Linked DNA regions of Homo sapiens: all the other regions are linked to region 2. Evidence: promoter capture Hi-C in human tissues and cell types (Jung and others, 2019). All regions are on one chromosome and are shown on one strand. Each heading gives the region's core, a stretch centred on a gene start or on the middle of the fragment in contact. The rest is flanking DNA. Distances are from core to core; before and after follow the strand shown.

Region 1 (2,700 bases), core at 165-2,664, 140 kb after region 2:
GGTGGTGCGCACCTGTAGTCCCAGCTGCTGGCTAAGGCAGGAGAATCACTTGAACCCCAGAGACAGAGATTGCAGTGAGCCGAGATCACACCACTGCACTCCAGCCTGGCGTGGTGGCACGTGCCTGTATTCCCAGCTACTCAGGAGGCTAAGGCAGAAAAATCACTTGAACCTGGGAGGCGGAGGTTGCAGTGAGTGAAGATGGTACCACTGCACTCCAGCCTGGGCAACAGAGCAAGACGTGGTCTCAAACAAACAAACAAACAAACAAAAAACTGCTGGGCTCTCCAGCCTCTTCTCCAAGAAGCACCTCCTTGGGTCTTCAGGAGATCTCCCGAGGCTGTTCAATGGAGACATCTTGGTCTCTTAGGAAAATTTCAAGGCTTGGGAAGGGTAGTGGAGACCTCTCAAGTCTCCTGCTTCTGGAGTCCGGGTTGGGAGAGAGAGTCCAGTTGACAGCCAGAGTCCCAAGACACAGGGCCCCGTATCACCCATGCCTATCTGTCCACGCCCCATACATGCTCTGGTGGCAAGTGTGAACAAACAAAGTGAACAGCAGCCAAGTTTTAATCTGTGTGTGGAGCACTAGGGAAATGTAGGTGTGGGCAGATTTTTGTGGTCTCAGCCTATCTGAGCAGGAGCCCTAGGGGCGGTGAAGAAGCCTTGGTGAGTCAGGAGACAGCAGGGCAAAAAGGACAAGCACACGTGCTCTGGAGTCACACAGACCCAAATTCTGAGCCCTTGGTCTGCCATTTACATACTTCATGATCACAGGCAAGTTCCCTACTTCTCTGAACCTCAGTTTTCACCTGTAGAAAATGGGAGTAATTCTCATTCTAGTAGGTGTTAAAAAAAATAAGAAATTTAAAATAATTAAAGTTTTAAAAAAAAGCAAAATAAAATGGCCATAATGGTTTCATCTCATTGGTTTATGCGGGTTAAATGAGGCAATGTCTACAGAGTGCTGGGCTGGCTCTCTTTTTTTAAGAGATAGAGTCTCACTCTGTCACCCAGGCTGGAGTGCAGTGGCGCAATCTCGGCTCACCGAAGCCTCGACCTCCCAGGCTCAAGCAATCCTCCCCTACTTCAGCCTCCTGAGTAGCTGGGACTATAGGCAGGCACTACCACGCCTGGCTAATTTTTGTATTTTTGGTAGCGAGGGGGTCTCGCCATGTTGCCCAAGCTGGCCAAATCTCTCATAAATTGGGAGTTGTTACTGAGGAGTCCATATGCCTCAATTTCCTTATCTCTAAAACAGAGATAACAGTAGGATTACCTGAGGGGGGATTAAATGAGATAATAAATGAAGAGTGGTTGACACACTGTGGGTAAATGTTAACTATTAACACTATCAACACCTTCCCTGTTTTGCTCAAGGTCAAAACCCGATAGTTCCCTCCTCTTCTTGCTTTCTCCCTGACCCTGTTCCATTTGCCAGGAAATGACCCTTCTTATCTTTTTGGACAGAAGAATGCACTCAGAAGAGAGCACGTGGGAGAGCAGGAGGAGATCCAGGGGTCTCTGTCCTTGCTGAGACCTGCGTCTCCCCTCCCACCGCACTCAGACCCAGGGCTTTCCACGAGCATCTCTCTTGGACAAAGCTCTGCCCAAGGGTTCATTTTAGAGACTTCTGTAACTCAAGAGGATCAGTATTAATCTTCCCCACCTACAAGATGAGTGGCAGCCCAAAGCCAAGTGCTTCCCAGCCAGGGAGAGAAAGACATGGAAGTTCCCTTCTTTTCTGTGTCTCTCCCCGCCTCCTTTTTGCGGGGGAGCTGAATGTGCTCCTCTGGAGGGACTGAGGGAAGCCAGGGCTGGCTCAAAAGTGATTTTGCCTAGATGAAGCTGGCAGCTGGGAACCACTTTCCCTCCGCTTGCCCTCTGCCGGGGAAACTCCATGACGGAGACAAGGCAGCTGGCAGGGAGAAGCCTCTGGATTGGGGCTGCTGGGGCTGCTGCAGTGCCAGGCAGGGCCACACAGGAACACATGGGCCCAGAGGCAGATGCTGATGCCACCTTTCCTTGCTGAGGACTCCCTAGAAAGGCAGTGCCTTGGAGCCTGCGGGGAAGACTATCTTTACCTGTAGCACAGAAGCAAATATAAAGGAACACAGAACTAGTGGAAAAGGTACGGGGTTGGGCTCTGAAGAATGGGGTCCCAGCCCTGGTGCTGCCACTCCACGGCCGTGTGATTTTTGGTCAAGGTGCTTAAGATCTTTCCCCAAATTCTAGTTTCCCTATTTGCAAAATGAATGTTGTAATACGTCCCTCATAGGAACTGTGCAGAGAATTAGTTGAAATGATGTATGGGAAGCTGGGACACGGGAGATGGCTAATAAATATTCATTTATTCCACAGAGGAATCGAAGAGAAAGGAAATCGCTGGATTTTGGAGGCTTTATGATTTATCAGCTTATTCTATGGAATTAAGCCCTGGGCATCATGCTATTTGTCAGGGGCCTGGTTCTAGCGAAGATATGTGTTTATCTTTCACTATGAGATCCCAAGAGTCTCCCGAAATATTCTGGGCCTCAGAACTGGTTTCTCTGGGTGGCAGAGTATCAGAACACAGGGCAGAAGGAACCTGTTCCTCAGAGATCCAATCGACATCTCCCTTAAGCCTTTTGCTGCCCTCCACGAACCCATCCTTTTGTGCTGCCAGCTCCATGTCCCCATTCCGGGGGAGGCCAGAATGACACA
Region 2 (2,700 bases), core at 14-2,513:
AAAAGTATAAAGTCAATAGTTGGTTACCCCTCTCCCCAAGCCTTTGTTACAAGAAAAGTAGGTCAAGGGTGTAGACAAGGTTATGGACAGGAGATAGCTGGGGTAGGCACAGAAGCCTTGGAGAAAGAACCAGCTACCACTATTTCCTGTCTGTAGGGAAAATCAAAAAGTCACTTTTAGAACAACAGTCATGGGTTATTACTATACCCTTTATCTTTTGTATCCATTTTGTGTATACTCAGTCTCTGCATCCATGAGACCATGGAATGTGCTAGTCCCTGATATTGCCAGCTTTAAATGATTGAGGCAATTTCCTGTTGCTTATTGTGGGTAACAATCTAGCCAAAAATCTCAGCATCTCACTTTCTCTGCAGGCTCCTTTTCTAATCAGGAGCTATCAGTCTCCCACACCTGTATTAAATGCATTCAGATAAGAGTTACAGAATTTTCTTTGCCCCCAGCCCCACTAATTCCATGGTAAGATGGAGTGCTACTAAGAGAACCCCTTTACTGTTGGTCTATTTCCAGTTCCCCTAAGAGTTGAATGGAGAAACACGTAGACTTAATAACATTGGCAGACTAGGAAGGGGAAGAAGTTAGGTCGGTTTTAGGAAAAACACCAAGATGTTGGGGGGCACGTTGGCCTTCAGTCAGTGGAAAGAGTGGCATTATACATCCAATGGAAGTAATACATTGGCCAATTGGAAAGGAACCTAAGAAGTGCTGGCAGTATAGAATGGGATGGTGCTGTTATGGGCCATTGAGAAGGAAGACATTGTGTCTCATGGACCAATGGGGAGAACATTTCCTACAAGACAGCAGGTAGGAGCTCATATTTTCAGGATAGGAAATCAATGGGGGTATTGGAGACACTAAATAGCTCAAAACATCCACTCTCTAGGTACCTTGCCCCTCACCCCCTTACCCCGTAAATGTCTTTGGTATCCGAGGAGAGCAAGCTAAAGCCCTCTCATATATACGACTCCCTGAAGGAAGATTGAGACCAGGGATGATGCCATGGGGAAGCTGAAGGACCCGCCCACTTCCCTACCCCGGCCGGACCTGCAATTCCCCTCCAGACCGCAGGGGGCACTGCAGGCCCCGGGGAGATTGGGGCGGAGCGCTGCGAGGGGCCAGGAGCTGTCGCCCCGCTCCAGAGCGCGGGGGGCGCTGTGCGGGGCCCAGGCTGCGGCTCCGCTCCCGGCCACGGGGGGCGCTGCGCTGCGCCGGTGGTTGGTGGTGGCTGTTGGGGGGGGTGGGGGGGAACGGCGGCCGCGGGTGGTGCGGAGGGAGGCCTTGCGGGCGGATCGGGCGCTTGGCGGCGGAGGTGGTGGGAGGCGGCGGGCGGGAGCGCGGGTCAGGCCGGCCCCGGCGATGGCGGACGCGGCGGCCTCCCCGGTGGGCAAGCGGCTGCTGCTGCTGTTCGCGGACACTGCGGCCTCAGCCTCGGCCTCGGCTCCCGCGGCGGCAGCGGCGAGCGGAGATCCGGGGCCTGCGCTGCGCACTCGAGCCTGGCGGGCCGGCACGGTGCGGGCCATGAGCGGGGCGGTGCCCCAGGACCTAGCGGTGAGTGGCGGCCGAGTCGGGCACTCGAGGCCGGGGCTGCGGGGCCTGCGGGCGGCCTCCCCGGGGGCCTTTGTGAGGGGGCGGTGGGATGGGGGTGACCCATTTCCGTGCCCCCGGGTCTCCTTAGCGCCCCCCGCCGGCACCTCCGCACCCCGAGCGCTTGCCGGCATGGCTTCCGCGTCGGGGTGTGCGCCCCGGTTTCCCCCGGGGGGCGGCCAGGGCGTCCGGAGCTGCTGCTTGCAGCCAGCAGGCCCCGCCTCCTGGGCGACCCTTTTCTCGGCGTTCCCCCCAACACGCCTTCGGAGCAGGCTCTCGAATCTTGAGCTCCCGGGAGCCTCAGAGTTCGGCCAGTGTTGCCGCTGCCCTCTCGAAGACGCGGACCTGTGGTCCCCAGCCTCTCCCAGGAGACCTGCGCCCTGTTCCTTTTCTCCCAGAGCCCCAAGTGGGGCGGGAATGTGGGCAGTTATGGGAGGCACGGAGGCTGCAGTTGGAGCTGGTCGGGGCTTTTTTATCTGGCAGTTACTTCCTCATCTGAGCTGGGCTCGGCCTGGCGGTCTCCAGAAAGGCCAGCTCTCGGCACTGTCTCGAGCTCTCCTCTCCTTTCCTTAACGCTTCTGGGTGACAGGAGCTGCAGTTGTGGCTGTTTTTGTTAAGTTTGAGATCTTTCTTAGTGGCCGAACGGGGCTGCTGGGTAGTGCTTTTTGCTCCCAGCTCAGCTACTCCCCCAACCTTGGGAGAGGTTTTGTTTTGAAACTTTGTGTTTGGGCTTGGCCCTTTTTGAATGCCTTGGTGTGTTTTGTGATTAAAGTTGTTCAGTCATACAACTTAACTAGCATTCGGGATCATGATGTGTTATTCTCGTTAATGTGGCGGTAAAATATAGTGTTTGAGTTTTGGCAAGCCACTTTATTTCCTCATTTTGATAGGGGCCCTAGCTTCTCTGGTGAGATAAGGCTATGAAAAATGGTGTGTGTGCGTGTTGGGGCAGGGGGTGGTCTTTTGGAATGTAATAGATCAGCAAGCAGAAAGTAAATTTTCTTGATGAACTTGCTTTTGCAGATATAAACGGGAACGCAGTTTGTGAGATTTGGAAGTAATGTTGTAGGCTTCCGATGTTCATTTTTCTTCCTATTG
Region 3 (2,700 bases), core at 131-2,630, 210 kb before region 2:
CCTTATCTGGCCAAGCAGACTTAGTTATTAATATCTATTGTTTTCTCTTTTAATTTTTTAATTTTATTTTTCTGAGACAGAGTCTTGCTCTGTTGCCCAGGCTGGAGTGCAGTGGCATGATCTCAGCTCACTGCAACCTCTGCCTCCCGGGTTCCAGCGATTCTCCTGCCTCAGCCTCCCAAGTAGCTGGGACTAAAGTTGCATACCACCACACCCAACTAATTTTTGTATTTTCCATAGAGACGGGGTTTTGCCATGTTGGCCAGGCTGGTCTCAAACTCCTGGCCTTAAGTGATCCACCCGCCTCAGCCTCCCAAAGTGCTGGGATTACAGGCATGAACCACCATGCCCAGCCAATTTTTTTTTTTTTTGAGACAGGGTCTTGCTCTGTTGCCCAGGCTGGAGTGCAGTAGTGTGATCGTGGCTTACTGCAGCCTCAACCTGCTGGGCTCAAGCGATCCTCCTGCCTCAGCCTCCCAAGTAGCTGGGACTCCAGGCACATGCCACCACGCCCTGCAGCTAATTTCTGTATTTGTTGTAGAGACAAGGTCCCACTACGTTGCCCAGGCTGGATATCTACTGCTTTCTAATAAAGATTTCATATTTAATCTAAATTGTAAGGTAAGAATGTGGAATTTACCATCCAAGACTATGAACTGTCATGAGATAAGATGTCTCAGATTGGGCCCGGTGTGGTGGCTCACGCCTGTAATCCCAGCACTTTGGGAGGCCGAGGCAGGCGGATCACAAGGTCAGGAGATTGAGACCATCCTGGCTAACACGGTGAAACCCCGTTTCTACTAAAAATACACAAAAAATTAGCTGGGCGTGGTGGCGGGTGCCTGTAGTCCCAGCTACTTGGGAGGCTGAGGCAGGAGAATGGTGTGAACCTAGGAGGCAGAGCTTGCAGTGAGCCGAGATCACGCCACTGCACTGCAGCCTGGGCGACCGAGCGAAACTCCGTCTCAAAAAAAAAAAAAAAAAAAAAAAGTCTCAGATTGCAGATTTCCTGCTGTTTGTACAGTCACAGTATGTCATCTCTGCACTCTATTGCTCATACTTAAGGAGTTAAAGAAAAGCAAATGAAGGCATTCCTCACCAATCTACATTTTAAACTGTATCCTATTTGTGTACCAAAAATTGAAATCTAGGCTGGGCACAGTGGCTCAGGCTTATAATCCCAGTACTTTGGGAGGCTGAGGTGGGATTGCTTGAAGCCAGGAGTTCAAGACCCAGCTTGGGCAACAAAGCAAGACCCTGTCTCTATGAGAAAAAAAAGAAATCTGCTCTTCAAAAAATATATATATATATATATTCATATATAAATATATGCATGGTTCAGCTGTATATCTTAAACAAAAAAACACTAGAATAATTATTAGTTTTACCTTTCCACAGACAACTGGGTGGATCTGGGATATACTGAAGAAAAAAAAAACAGTTCATACTATATTCTCTCAACAGATGGATCTGACACAGGCTGGAAAAAGAACAATTTATTTATTACCATAACAAAAATAACTTTGCTGGACGTAGTGGCTCATGCCTATAATCTCAGCACTTTGAAAGGCTGAGGCAGGAGAATCACTTGAGGCCAGGAGTCACAGATAAAAACAACTTTGTTTTTCTGCTTTAAAAAGTAATTCACTTCATGCCAGATGCAGTAGTTCATGCCTATAATCCCAGGACTTTGGGAGGCCAAGGCAGGGGATCGCTTGAGTCCAGGAGTTTGAGACCAGTCTGGTCAATGTGATGAAACCCTGTCTCTAACAAAAATACAAAAAAATCAGCTGGTTGTGGTGGTGCACATCTGTGTTCCCAGCTATTCATGAGGCTGAGGTGAGAGGATCACCTGAGCCCAGGAGGCGGAGGCTGAAGTGAGCCAAGATCATGCCATTGCACTCTAACTTGGGCAACAGAGTGAGATCCTATCTCAAAAAAAAAAATTAATATTTTTTTGGTTTCCTGTTAAAAAAAAACAGCCCCCATTAAGATTTGAAAATGTGTTATTTAGTCCTATAATTATCTATACAAAGATGAGACAATTGCATAAACCAGGGGTGTCCAATCTTTTGGCTTCCCTGGGCCACACTGGAGGAAGAAGAAGAATTGTCTTGGACCACACATAAAATACACTAACAATAGCTGATGAGCTGGAAAAAAAAAAAAAAAAAGAAAAAAAAAAGGGAAAAAAAAAGGGTCAGTGCATAAATCTCATAATGTTTTAAGAATTTGTGTTTGGCCACATTCAAAGCTGTCCTGGGCTGCAGGCTAGGGATTAGACAAGCTTGACATAAACAATCCCCTAAGAGATGTGAAAAAGAAACAAAGATCACAAACTTCAAAATAATTTTTTTCTTCTCTTTTATTTCTTGTTTTGTTTTCTGAGACAGGGTCTTGCTCTGTCACCCAGGCTGTGTAGTGACATGATCATAGCTCACTGTAACCTTCACCTCCCAAGTTCAAGCAGTCCTCCTGCCTTGGCCTCCTGTGTAGCTAGGACTACAGGTGCATGCCCCCACACCCAATAAATTTTGTTTATTTTTTGTAAAGATGAGGTTTCACTATATTGCCCAGGCTAGTCTCAAAATCCTGAGCTCAAGCAATCCTCCTGCCTCTGCCTCCCAAAGTGCTGAGATTACAGGTGTGAGCCACTGCGCCTGGCCTAATTTTTTCTTTAAAAAAAAATTTTTTTATCCT

Evidence for each region. Contacts are between HindIII fragments. The study calls those that stand out against the background at their distance.
Region 1: a contact is called between a fragment that was not itself captured here and the fragment with the promoter of KDM3B in region 2, in 1 of the 25 tissues and cell types used here (adrenal gland).
Region 3: a contact is called between a fragment that was not itself captured here and the fragment with the promoter of KDM3B in region 2, in 1 of the 25 tissues and cell types used here (hippocampus).

What each region holds. Positions count from the first base shown.
Region 1 is chr5:138,488,063-138,490,762 of GRCh38, forward strand. No RefSeq gene overlaps it. Among named protein-coding and RNA genes, the nearest start is that of EGR1, 24 kb to the left of the region's middle. The HindIII fragment of the contact is 5,676 bases long and covers 1-2,700 here.
Region 2 is chr5:138,351,422-138,354,121 of GRCh38, forward strand. It overlaps KDM3B (lysine demethylase 3B), which reads left to right and starts at 1,264. Exons shown (of 24, transcript NM_016604.4): 1 at 1,264-1,566. The coding sequence starts at 1,375. RefSeq lists silencers at 964-1,043, 1,064-1,303, 1,384-1,853 and an enhancer at 2,104-2,203. The HindIII fragment of the contact is 4,490 bases long and covers 1-2,700 here.
Region 3 is chr5:138,146,003-138,148,702 of GRCh38, forward strand. The region is part of intron 23 of BRD8 (bromodomain containing 8); the gene reads right to left. Among named protein-coding and RNA genes, the nearest start is that of NME5, 7.9 kb to the left of the region's middle. The HindIII fragment of the contact is 5,043 bases long and covers 1-2,700 here.